Linked DNA regions of Homo sapiens: region 2 is linked to region 1. The links are contacts of gene promoters, found by promoter capture Hi-C in blood cells and fetal thymus (Javierre and others, 2016). All regions are on one chromosome and are shown on one strand. Each heading gives the region's core, a stretch centred on a gene start or on the middle of the fragment in contact. The rest is flanking DNA. Distances are from core to core; before and after follow the strand shown.

Region 1 (5,709 bases), core at 1-2,500:
TCTTGGCTCACTGCAACCTCTGCCTCCCTTCCTTTTATTGGGGCACTATAGTATATGAAATAGATCATCAAGAAGTAATTGAGGTTCTTCCAGAATTTCCTGAACAATGAAATTAACAAGCACTGTTGGTAAATAATAAAAATGCTGGATTAATTTGAAAAAAAAAAAAGTACTAGAATGTTTCTATTCAGGCCGCACCTGAAAATGTGCTACTTATACTAATTAAAAATCCTCAGGCAAGAGACAACTGTGCCCAATTTTCAAGTTTTTTGTTTTGTTTTGTTTTGTTTTGTTGTTTTGTTAATTGTTGACCACGTCCTGAGTTCAGAGCGAATCCTCTGGGTGTTTAATAGGAAACAGATAATTTCTTTCTGAACCTAGCCTACACAAAGAAATCCAAAAGCGTGAGGAAGTGTGTGCTCTCCCCCTTCCCCTCATGGAATTAACTTTGTAGGACCACCTGGCCAGTGAGGCACCCAGATAGGAAACTTTTAATTTGCGTCAACAGAGGTGCTTTATCTGAATAAAACCCAGCCAGAGCCAGAGCGAAGGGGAGAGAGAGAATTGCTGACCAGAAGAACAGGAGAAGCAGGGAGGGAAGTGACCTTAAGAACACACACGGCCCGCGCATCCCACCCCACCAGAGTCTTTAACCCAAAGCCTCTGGGTTTCTCTAGCAGCTATGGGCAGGTGCCCTCCTCAGCCCGAGCCAGCTGCCCGCCCCACCCCGCCTTTTGGCCTCGCGCGGGCGTCGGTGGCCTGCAGGACTGGCAGGCATCCAGGCGCCAGGCGGAGCGCTGAGGGAGGCTCCCGCCGGCCGAACAGCGGGGAGACCCGTGAAGCAGGCGCACCGGCCACGCGCCCGGAGGGACAGGGACAGGGACCGGCAGGGGTGGGCCCGCCGCCAACCCGCCGGGCACCCCGCGGACTCGGGCCTAGCCAGCGACTCCCCCCGCCCTTCCCGCGCCCTGTCTCGCGCCCCGTCGCCTTCCTCCCGCGCCCCGTCGCCTTCCTCCCGCGCCCCGTCTCCCTCCTCCCGTGCCCCGTCTCCCTCCTCCCGTGCCCCAGGCCCTCAGCCCCCCACTTGACGGGCGCAGGGAAGGGGCGGGTGCCGCGCTCTCCTCCCGGCCCGCAGTCCCCTACCCGCGGCTCGAGCGCGCTGTACCTGGGGTTCTGGGGCCGCCCTCACCCTTGCGCCGCCGCCACCACCACTGCCGCCGGCCTAGCTCCCCCAGGACCGAAAGTGAAAGTGGAGCCCGGGGAGCGGCAGGCTGGCGCTGAGCGGCGCTTCGGCCCGAGCCCTAGCGGCAGGCGGGGAAGCCCCTGGCTAAGGCGGGAGCTGGGGAAAGGGTAAACGGGAGTGGGGCCGAGCGAGGGAAGCCGCAACTCCCAGGAAGGGAATTGGTAAATGAGCGCTGCACGCCGGGGAAGCTGCGAGGTTGCGATGCGGGGGATCAGGCGTAGGAAGTGCACGCCTTTCTGAACGCGGATCCGTGTGTGTGTGTGTGTGTGTGTGTGTGTGTGTGTGTGTGTGTGTGTGTGTGTGTGTGTGTGTGTGTGTGTGTGTTGAGATGCTTTTTGTTTTTGTCTTTTTTTTTTTTTCACTGTTTAGCGTTGCGAGGGTTAGGGGCATGCAGGAAAGGGCCGGTGCTCAAGTTGGGGACCGAAGCCAGGCAGGCGCTGACAAGTCCACCAAGCCTAGACGCGTTCGACGCCCATTGGACTCGCTGGGTGTCCGTCATCTCGCCACTGCCAGTGGGCTGAGAGCTCTTGGCCCGCCTCGGAAAGAAACATGAACCCAGTACTCTGTCGTGGCAAAGTGCCGCACCTTCTGGGGCTTCGGTAGAGAATGACTACAGTGGGAGATGCTGTAGAGGAGGAAGGTGGGTTAGAGGTGGCCCCCAGGACTTTCCTGCACTACCAAGGGCCACTGTACCCCAAGGATTAGCTGCTTCCCGCATCAACACGTTCCCTCTGATTTTTCAAAGTAAATGACCATTTCTTCACTCCCCTTAGAACAATTAAAGCTGAATAAAATGGCCAAAAAGACCATCTTTAAACAGTTGAGGCTAAATGAGGTAACAAGTCAAGAAAACACAAACATTAAAACACCAAATGCTACAAGTTTATTACCGAAAATGGGTCCCGATCCAGACCCCAAGAGAGGGTTCTTGGATTTTGCGCAAGAAAGAATTTGAGGGGAGTCCATGGAGTAAAGTGAAAGCAAGTAATTAAGAAACTAAAGGAATAAAAGAATGGCTACTCATAGGCAGAGCACCCCCAAGGGCTGTTGGTTGTCCATTTTTAGGGTTATTTCTTGATTATATGCTAAGCGGGGGAAATTATTCATGCCTCCCCTTTTTAGACCATATAGGGTAGCTTCCCGACGTTGCAGTGGCATTTGTAAACTGTCATGGAGCTGGTGAGACCGTAGCAGTGACGACCAGAGGACACTCTCATTGCCATCCTGGTTTTGGTGGGTTTTGGCCAGCTTCCTTACTGCAACCTGTTTTATCAGCAAGGTCTTTATGACCTGTGTCTTGTGCCTACCTTCTATCTCATTCTGTGACTTAGAATGTCTAACCTCCTGGGAGTGTAGCCCAGTAGGTCTCAGCCTTATTTTACCCAGCTCCTATTCAAGATGGAGTTGCTCTGGTTCAAACGTCTCTGATAATTTGGTGAGTGGACCATGGTCCTAGTGGGAACAGGACCCTTTTCATGCGGTTCTCAGACTTTCTTCTCCCACTTCTTTATTGGCCTTCTTCCCTTTGAGAACTGGGGATTCCAAGTCACTGCAACAGTATTTCTCTTTTTTTTTCAATATTATGTTTCCTTTTTAAAAATATAATGTTTCATACTGCCTATTATCTCTAGTCAAGGACATTTTATAATATAAAGATTAACACCCTGTTCCAAGACTCAACTACGGTGGGATCCAGGGAAGTTTTTTTCACTAAAATTCAACAAGAAATGAGGACTTTGAGATCTGGTAATTTCTGCATGTTCAGAATTTGACAGGAGGTATCAATGGATAGCGTGTAGCCTCCAAGACCTCCAGACATCTCGGAGTGCTCCCAGTTTACTCAAGATGAGACCTCTTTGTCCAGTAAATGTATGCATTTCTTTGCTTTTATATTTATATTTTTGAATATGATGGTTTTCCTTTGGCTTCTAGTAAAGTTTTTTTGTTTTTGTTTTTGTTTTTTGTTTATGTGTCTTTTTAAATACATATTGAAAGTCCAGCTGGCAGAACTGAATGCACCCAACAGGCTGGAGGTTAATACAGAAGACAGCTGAGGAGACAAACAGGGCAATGCCCTGAATGGATGTGGGCAGAAAGGAGCTGAAGTGTAGGCGAGGAGAGAGCTGACACCACCACCCGCTCCACGCCGTTTCCCCAAAAGCTCACCCTGACTCAGACTTTAGCCTGTCGCCCTGGCCGTGATTTCGTCTTTAGAGTTGAAGTGCACTACAAAGAGCGATAAGTCAGAGGATTTGGCAGCATTCACTTCTAGTTTCAAAGCCCTAGCAGGGATGTAGAGGACACAGACCTTGGAGTAAGGACTTTAAGGAGTCCTAGTTCTAGAGCCTGTGAGATCAAAACAGCACATTACCGAGCTTAGAAATGGTTAGAAGGAAGGGAACAGAGAGAAAGGGTACCTAGGTTTATTGATTCCCTACCAACTGTTAGATACTGTTAAATGCTAGCTATGTGTGCATGTGTGTGTTTATAATTTGATCTCTTCAGCAACCCTGTAATGTAGATATTATGCTTTATAGATGAGAAAAATGAGACAGGTCGGCAACTTGCTCAGAGTCAAAGAGAAAACACACACTAATTCTACTCACATTGCATTGGCCAGAACAAGGAGGGGTTGGTAAACACTAATATTGTATACCATATAGTGTAGGAGGGCTGGTTGGCCGGTTGAGCCCATCCATTGCAGAGGCTTCTCAGTGTCCTTAGTCCCAGAGGTGAGCCAGAGGAATGAGGAGAATTTCAGGCCTAGGCCAATGAAATACATACCACTTTGAGCTATTACTGATCTACTTAAAAAATATTGAATTCTAGATATTGTCAAGTGATGTTCAATTTTGCTGTAATTGATTGATTCAGTTCTGCTTTCATTAGCTTTTAGTCAATTAATGTCAGCGTTTGGCTCATTTCTTCTGTTTTGCTGCCAAAGCTGCTCCTATTTTAATCATATTACCACTCTCCTTTTTGATGTAAAATCTCATCCAGAATCATGGTGTAGAAAACAGACAAAAGCAGGCCTGCTCTTATTAAACAGGGCAGCTCCACCCAGTCAGCCTTGCCCACTGCTATCCGGCCCTTCCACACACATTGTGGTCCTTGAGACTCTTCCATAGGCTCCCAGGGCCTTAGAACTTAATTTTTTTAAATGCCAATTTAAAAAAAAATAATAATGCCCCTCATTCTTGATATTCTTGATAAAGAGGATGACTTTTTTCCCCCTCTGTGCCAAGTTGCAGAGCAGGCTTGCTTAACAAAAGCAATACCATCTTATTAATAATCAGAAACAGGGAAGACGGTACAGATGCCATGTTAAAGACTGTTCCAAAACAGGCCACTGAGCTCATATCAAATAATAAAGTCCTCTGAAATGTGGCAGCTTGAAAGCATTTACATATAGTCTATCTCATGGGATCCTCACATTGTACTTATGCAGGTGGCTAGTAGCTCCATTTTTCTAGAATGAGGAAACAGGATTAGAGATGTGAAGTGACCTACCAGGGGCCACCACATGGAAAAAGCCTGCTTTAAAGTGAAGCCAGTTCAAAGGACAGCAGGGCTGACAGAGACAGAGAATACCTCCACTAAAGCCCTCAGCTCCAGCTGTCCTGAGCAAATCCTGTCCTTAGACCTTCCATTCAAGAGGACCAATGCTTTCCTTTTTGATTTAGCCAGTTGGAGTCAGTCTTCAGAGAGAGTCCTGTATTACCATACAACAGAGCACTATGGGAGCGAGCAATGTATGCCAGATTCTGTAGGAACAACTCAAGCAAGTTGAGTGACCACAGCTGCCCTTGAACTTCTAGAATTGTGGATCCTGAAGAACATTCTAGGTGCCACGAGGACTGATCACATGTTTCCCATTTTCCCTCCCTCAGGCATTTATTTCACAAGATACTGCTGTCTAAGGTAACCTGAGCATGTTTCCAGTTCTTGCAGCCTTACAGAACCCAGGGAATCCACCTGTCTCCAACCTTCCTCAGTAGGTGACAGGCCCATCTAACTGCTCTCTAGCCAGTCTTCTGTATTCCTGTTGCTTTTACCTTTGCTCGTGTCAACAAGGAGGTAAGTCACCATGACATATTTCTTAAATTTGTATTTCTTTCATCACTAATGAGACTGAATATATGCACTGAACATATGTTAATTAGCCGTTTTTGCTTTGTGTTTTCTCTTTTGAGAATTATATGTTTATGTTTCTTGTCCATTTATCTACTGGAGAATCACAATTCAGTTATATAAAAATTATCTATGACACACAAGAGAAAGCAATGAAATTTCTTTAAAATGCAAAGTGTCATAGTCAGTAAAGCTCTACTATTTCAAAGAAAACCCACAAATGTGTCTGGATAAATCATGTCAATTTCTTAAAAACCCAGATCTATACCCGTTATGGTGAGTTGTTTGAAATATCAGAATTTACTAGATATTGTCAATATGAACAGATTAAAGCA
Region 2 (5,879 bases), core at 1,120-3,619, 2.1 Mb after region 1:
AAAACTTCCTCTCCAACACCCTTCTGAATATATATCATTTGTTCTTTCTTTTCAAACTACATTTCTCATCATTATGAAAATTACAAAAGTTAAAGCATGCTATGAAAACTTTCCAAATAGCTCATTAAATGACTCTAGTAATCTACCCTCCATTTTCTTTTTACCTCACTTGCATGCCCATTTGGCCCCACAAATTTGAATATACTCAATTGCATATTTAAACTGGCTATTCCATTATCACCCCTAGATTATAATAATCTTTCTTGAAGTTAATGTATAACTTTACAACATGGCAAGATGCTGAATGACTACAGGTGAATAGCTTCATATACATGCATATGAATTTAACATGAATACAATTCTCCTGGGAATCTTATTAAAATGGAAATTCTGGCTCAGTAGATCTGGGACCTTTTAAGATGAAGGAATTGTTCTGTACATTACTGGAGTACAGAAAAAATGATTCTATGCACTTGTCAAAACCCAAAGAACTGTGCATCATTGAATAAGCATTAATATATGCAAATTTTAAAAATCAACCAGTATGATGATGATCACAGGATGGAATGCAGATTGTGACAAATGAATCTAATTTTATTATAAATTTATCACATAATTACACTCAAAGGGGTGAGAGAAAAATGAACTTGACCAACATCAGAAAACAGTGTTTTGACTAGAAACTTAAAGGCTAAATATTAAAGTGTACTGTATGTAAACACCGTATTTTAGTTGCGAAATTAGTTTCTCTTGATAAAGTATATCCTAAAAATTCTAAAACTGCTTTACATGTATATTATGAGTGAATATATAAGCAGATAAATGGTGGATGGTCAGAGCCAGGTTTCTCAATGTTGAGTAAGGAAGTTACAAAGCAATAAGAAAGAAAGGTTAGAATGAACCCTATAGCACAGGATTAGAGTTGGAGCCATCGGTATGAACTCACGTTTATGTATGAGATAATATGTATACAGACGTAAGGATACAGAAATGACTATAGATACGTAGGTATACATAATATATCTACATATATTACCTAGCTCTGTCTACTTTGTTCACTGAGAGGAAATAAAAGCAGTGACACTTGAATATCAACAAGCACACCCAGTACCCAAATCTTGGTTTCTAATGCCATTCTCCAAAAAAATGGAACCAAGGCTCCTTGGAGAGTGGCTGATTCTAGGGTAAAAGTAAGGCAGTGTGTAAAAGAAACATACGAGCCAACCTAAAAAAGCTTCCAAGAGCCAAGGCTAGATCAATTTAAGTAACAAAAAAGTCAACTATTATACAATAGATACATAAAATACCTATTATACATAAATATATACAAATATATATTTTATAGAGTTGTAATCCACTAAGCTGGATTACAACTCAAAGCACATACATAAATCCATACATATATAAACGATTTAGAAATTTCCTTACAGAAATTCCATTTAATATATGTAAATACTCCCCCCACCAGGAGATGGAATTTAATTCCTATCCCAACCCTCTTGAAAGTAGGCTAGACAAAATGACTTGCTTCCAAAGAATATATTATGGAAAGGGAAAAACAGTAACTTTACAGTAGAGAAACTTGCAAATACTACCTTGACCAAGTGAGAGGTTAACACCACCAGTAATGTCATGAGGATAACATGTTTCCCATATGATGTGACTAGCACACTTTATCTTTGTGGTATTCTTTCTAAAAACCAATAACCCTAGTTTATCCTAAGAACAATAGACAAGGCCAGGTGTGGTGGCTCACACACCTGTAATCCCAACACTCTGGGAGGCCAAGGTGGGTGGATTACCTGAGGTCAAGAGTTCAAGATCAGCCTGACCAACACAGAGAAACCCTGTCTCTACTAAAAATACAAAAATTAGCCAGGCATGGTGGTGCACACCTGTAGTCCCAGTCACTCGGGAGGCTGTGGCAGGAGAATCGTTTGAACCCAGGAGGCGGAGGTTGCAGTGAGGTGAGATCGTGCCATTGCACTCCAGCCTGGGCAACAGAGCAAGACGCCGTCTCAAAAAAAAAAAAAAAAAGACAAATCTAGATTTCAAAAACATTCTACAGGATACCTGGCCAGTATTTCTCAAGATGGTTTAGACCATGAAAACTAAGGAAAGACTTAGAAACTCTCACAGATGAAAGGAGACTGGGGAGACGTGACAACTAAATGCAATGTGGCACTCTGGATTTAATCCTACAACAGAAAAGAGGGAGTTAATGGAAAAATCAATGAAATCCAAGTATAGAGTTTAGGTAATAGTTTTTTAAAAAAGAATAAAAAAATAAATAAAATGGCTATAAATCTTGTTTCCCCATCTGGAAAGTGGGAATCATAACAATGTATACATCACAGAAGTTTTGTGAGGATGAACTGTGACAATTCAAGTAATGCACAATGCCCTATGTGCATCATGCTAGGTTAAGGCACAGCAAGAGCTCAACAATCATCAGTTGCCATTGTTACTGCTTCCGGAGAAACGAAACTTACCTAGCCTCTTGCTAGTCCTGCTCAAGACACAATTAATTGGAGGTTCGCAGAGAATGAAAACCATGTATAACAACATCAATAACAAAGTGGCAAGATGCTATGACTCCAGATGAATAGCTTCATATAAATGTATATGAACTTAATACATAAGAATCACTTAGAATCTTGTTAAAATGAAGATTCTGATTCAGTACGTCTGGGGCGAGGCACAAGGTTCTACAGTTATAATAAGCTCCCAAATGATGCCAACACCGCTGGTCCACGGACCACAACTGGTGCAACTTTTCTATTTCTGTAGTTTTAAATATTTCCCATTTTAAAAAAAGGTTAAACATTTTCTCCATTCATCATAAAGTAATACTCATTTTAAAACACAAAACTGCACCATATATAACCAATCAGTCATCAAGATCTTAAACAAGCAGCTACTTAAGCAGAGTAAAAGGGGTAACATCACATTAATGTTTGCCCACACATTATGACTACATACAGAAAAGTAATCTTTGAAAGGTAACTCATACACCATTCTGATCTTTAACCATATAGCCATTCCTGAAGTAAATCATCACTCAAGATAACTTATTTAAAACTAAAAAAAGTCAGCCAGGCGCAGTGGCTCATGCCTGTAATCCCAGCACTTTGGGAGGCCGAGGTGGGTGGATCACAAGGTCAGGAGTTCAAGACCACCAGCCTGGCCAACATGGTGAAATCCCATCTTTACTAAAAATACAAAAATTAGCGGGGCATGGTGGCGGGCACCTATAATCCCAGCTACTCAGGAGGCAGAGGCAGAAAACTGCCAGAACACAGGAGACGGAGGCTGCAGTGAGCCAAGATCGTGCTACTGCACTCCAGCCTGGGCAACAGTGAGACTCCATCTCAATTAAAAAAAAACAAACCACACACACACTAAAAAAAAGTCTACCAGGATTTGAAAAATTTGCTTGCAAATACCACCACAAATCCACACAGCTGCAAATTGATGCTTTGAAATCTTCCAGCATTATCTTTAAAAAGCTTAACTTCAGTTACATAAAACTTTGTGTTGAGCTGTAACTGTTATACAGGTGCATCCTGGCCCACATTTCTTAGTAACTAAATTTCAAGACTGTCAGCAATAGCATAGCAAAAGAGACATATTTTTCCTGTGTATTCTTCTTCCTTTCAGTGAATAGTTATAGAGAGATCTCCAGACAGAAAGAATAGTTAAAAATTTTTTTTTTCAGTAGAAAGCTAACTGTAACCTGCAAATGCCAAATGAATTCTTTCTTAATTCTATTCCGTTTAATAAACTTTCACAAAAGAAAAAGGAAATTTTGAAGCAAAAATACATTATAGAATTCTAGCCACTAAAAAACCAAAATTTACTTTAAAAAGCTACTTACAATGAATATCAACTTTAGAAACAAAGTATATTTCTAATCTAATTATATTAGGGGCCAGGCACGGTGGCTCATGCCTGTAATCCCCAGTGCTTTGGGAGGCCAAGGCGGGCAGATCACCTGAGGTCAGGAGTTCGAGACCAGCCTGGCCAACATGACGAAACACCGTCTCTGCTAAAAATACAAAAATTAGCTGGATGCAGTGGTGCATGCCTGTAGTCCCAGCTACTCGGGAGGCTGAGGCAGGAAAATTGCTTGAACTCGGTAGGCGGAGGATGCAGTGAGCCGAGGTCATACCGCTGCACTGCAGCCTGGGCGACAGAGCAAGACTCTGGCTCAAAAAAAAGAAAAAAAATTACTCTATATTAATATTCATAGTTATAGAAACTTTAGTTTTTTTTGCAAGAAAATCCCTCTACCTCTAAAGTTCACCTCCTCAGTCTTTTAACTAGGCACAATCTCCCTTCTTTGTAATGTCTTATGACAAAAGCTTCTGGGGAAGGGAGTGGGAATTGAGTGTTAATGACAGTAGAGCATAGTATAGCAGCGGTAAGAAAGAAAATGAAGGCAAAAAAGAAGGTCTCTCTCCTGATAAACTCCAAGGCAGTTGTAAAAACTAGATAACTTGATAACCACACTTTTCAGAAGCACACAAAACCTGTATAGCAGAATTAACAACTCCGAATAATTAAAGAAATATGCTTTGCAATTATTTAAGATGAGTATGCATTGTAAAAGATTCCTTAAATTTGATTTCGCAAGGTTTAATTTTTTTTTTTTTTTTGAGACGGAGTTTCACTTGTTTCCCAGGCTGGAGTGCAATCGCGCAATCTCCGGCTCACTGCAACCTCCGTCTGCCTCCTGGGTTCAAGCAATTCTCCTGCCTCAGCCTCGCGAGCAGCTGGGATTACAGGCCACCACACCCAGCTCATTTTGTATTTTTGGTAGAGACAGGATTTCTCCATGTTGGTCAAGGTGGTCTCGAACTCCCAACCTCAGGTGATCTGCCTGCTCGGCCTCCCAAAGTGCTGGGATTACAGGCGTAAGCCACCGCACCCGGCCACAAGGTTTAATTTTTTTTCACCTGTAGTATCAAATTGGACTTATTACTCCTCCTCGCTTTAGATATGGCAGAAAAATATATAAAATATTGGAACAGGTAAGTAGTCAGAATATACCAGCACATGATCTGTCTGCATATCCAACTAGAAGATTTACTCTCGAGTCTTATCTCCTATTTTATGAATAGTTTGGTTCCTTTGTTTCCTCTAGGTATTTCTACCTACTAACCATTCCATTCCAACTATGAATAAGAAAATGTGAGGCCGGGTGTGGCAGCTCACACCTGTAATCCCAACACTTTGGGAGGCCAAGGTGGGAGGACTGCTTGAGCCCATGAGTTCAAGACCAGCTGAGGCAATATGGTGAGACCTCATCTCTACAAAAAATTTTAAAATTAGCTGAGTGTGGTGGCATGCACGCCTTTCAGGATGCTGAGGTGGGAGAATCGTTTGAGCCCAGGAGGTGGAGGCAGAGGCTGCAGTGAGCTGAGACTACACAACTGTACTCCAGCCTGGGTGACAGAGTGAGGCCCTGTCTCAAAAGAAAAGAAAAGAAAAAAAAAATTGTGGGTGGACAATATGACTCTTCTATTTACTTAACTATAGTCAGTAGTCAACATACCTATAGAGATTTGAATCAAAGCTCAGATTCAAAAGTCTTTTAATTAAACCTCAACTCTGGTGATTCTAGTAAAACTTTACTGTTTGAAACTTTACGATGCACTTTGTAATTAATTAAAATGAAACTTCAATATCAGTTCAATCCTTAGAGTTGAGGCAATCATATGAGTTTTAATTAATGCAGAGATAGCATCAACTCAGGTTGTATAACTCCTAGACCAATACTTGTTCAAGTAATAATGCTGCTTTCCATAACTGTTCCTTATTTTATTCTCTATGATGTTCTTGCTTATCCAAACAGTATGTATGAAAGCTGATAAACT

What was found. Contacts are between HindIII fragments. The CHiCAGO score rates a contact against its expected background, and 5 or more counts as called.
Region 2: a contact is called between a fragment that was not itself captured here and the fragment with the promoter of ERAP1 in region 1, in 1 of 17 cell types (fetal thymus). The highest score is 5.1, in fetal thymus.

What each region holds. Positions count from the first base shown.
Region 1 is chr5:96,806,695-96,812,403 of GRCh38, forward strand. ERAP1 (endoplasmic reticulum aminopeptidase 1) reads right to left here and starts at 1,251. Exons shown (of 19, transcript NM_001040458.3): 1 at 1,166-1,251. It overlaps LOC124901033 (a long non-coding RNA gene), which reads left to right and starts at 764. Exons shown (of 3, transcript XR_007058879.1): 1 at 764-1,883; 2 at 5,134-5,320. RefSeq lists a silencer at 672-1,131 and enhancers at 704-1,205, 1,206-1,705, 1,862-1,931. The HindIII fragment of the contact is 13,314 bases long and covers 1-5,709 here.
Region 2 is chr5:98,918,777-98,924,655 of GRCh38, forward strand. All of the region lies in intron 2 of CHD1 (chromodomain helicase DNA binding protein 1), which reads right to left. Among named protein-coding and RNA genes, the nearest start is that of CHD1-DT, 6.8 kb to the right of the region's middle. The HindIII fragment of the contact is 2,275 bases long and covers 1,233-3,507 here.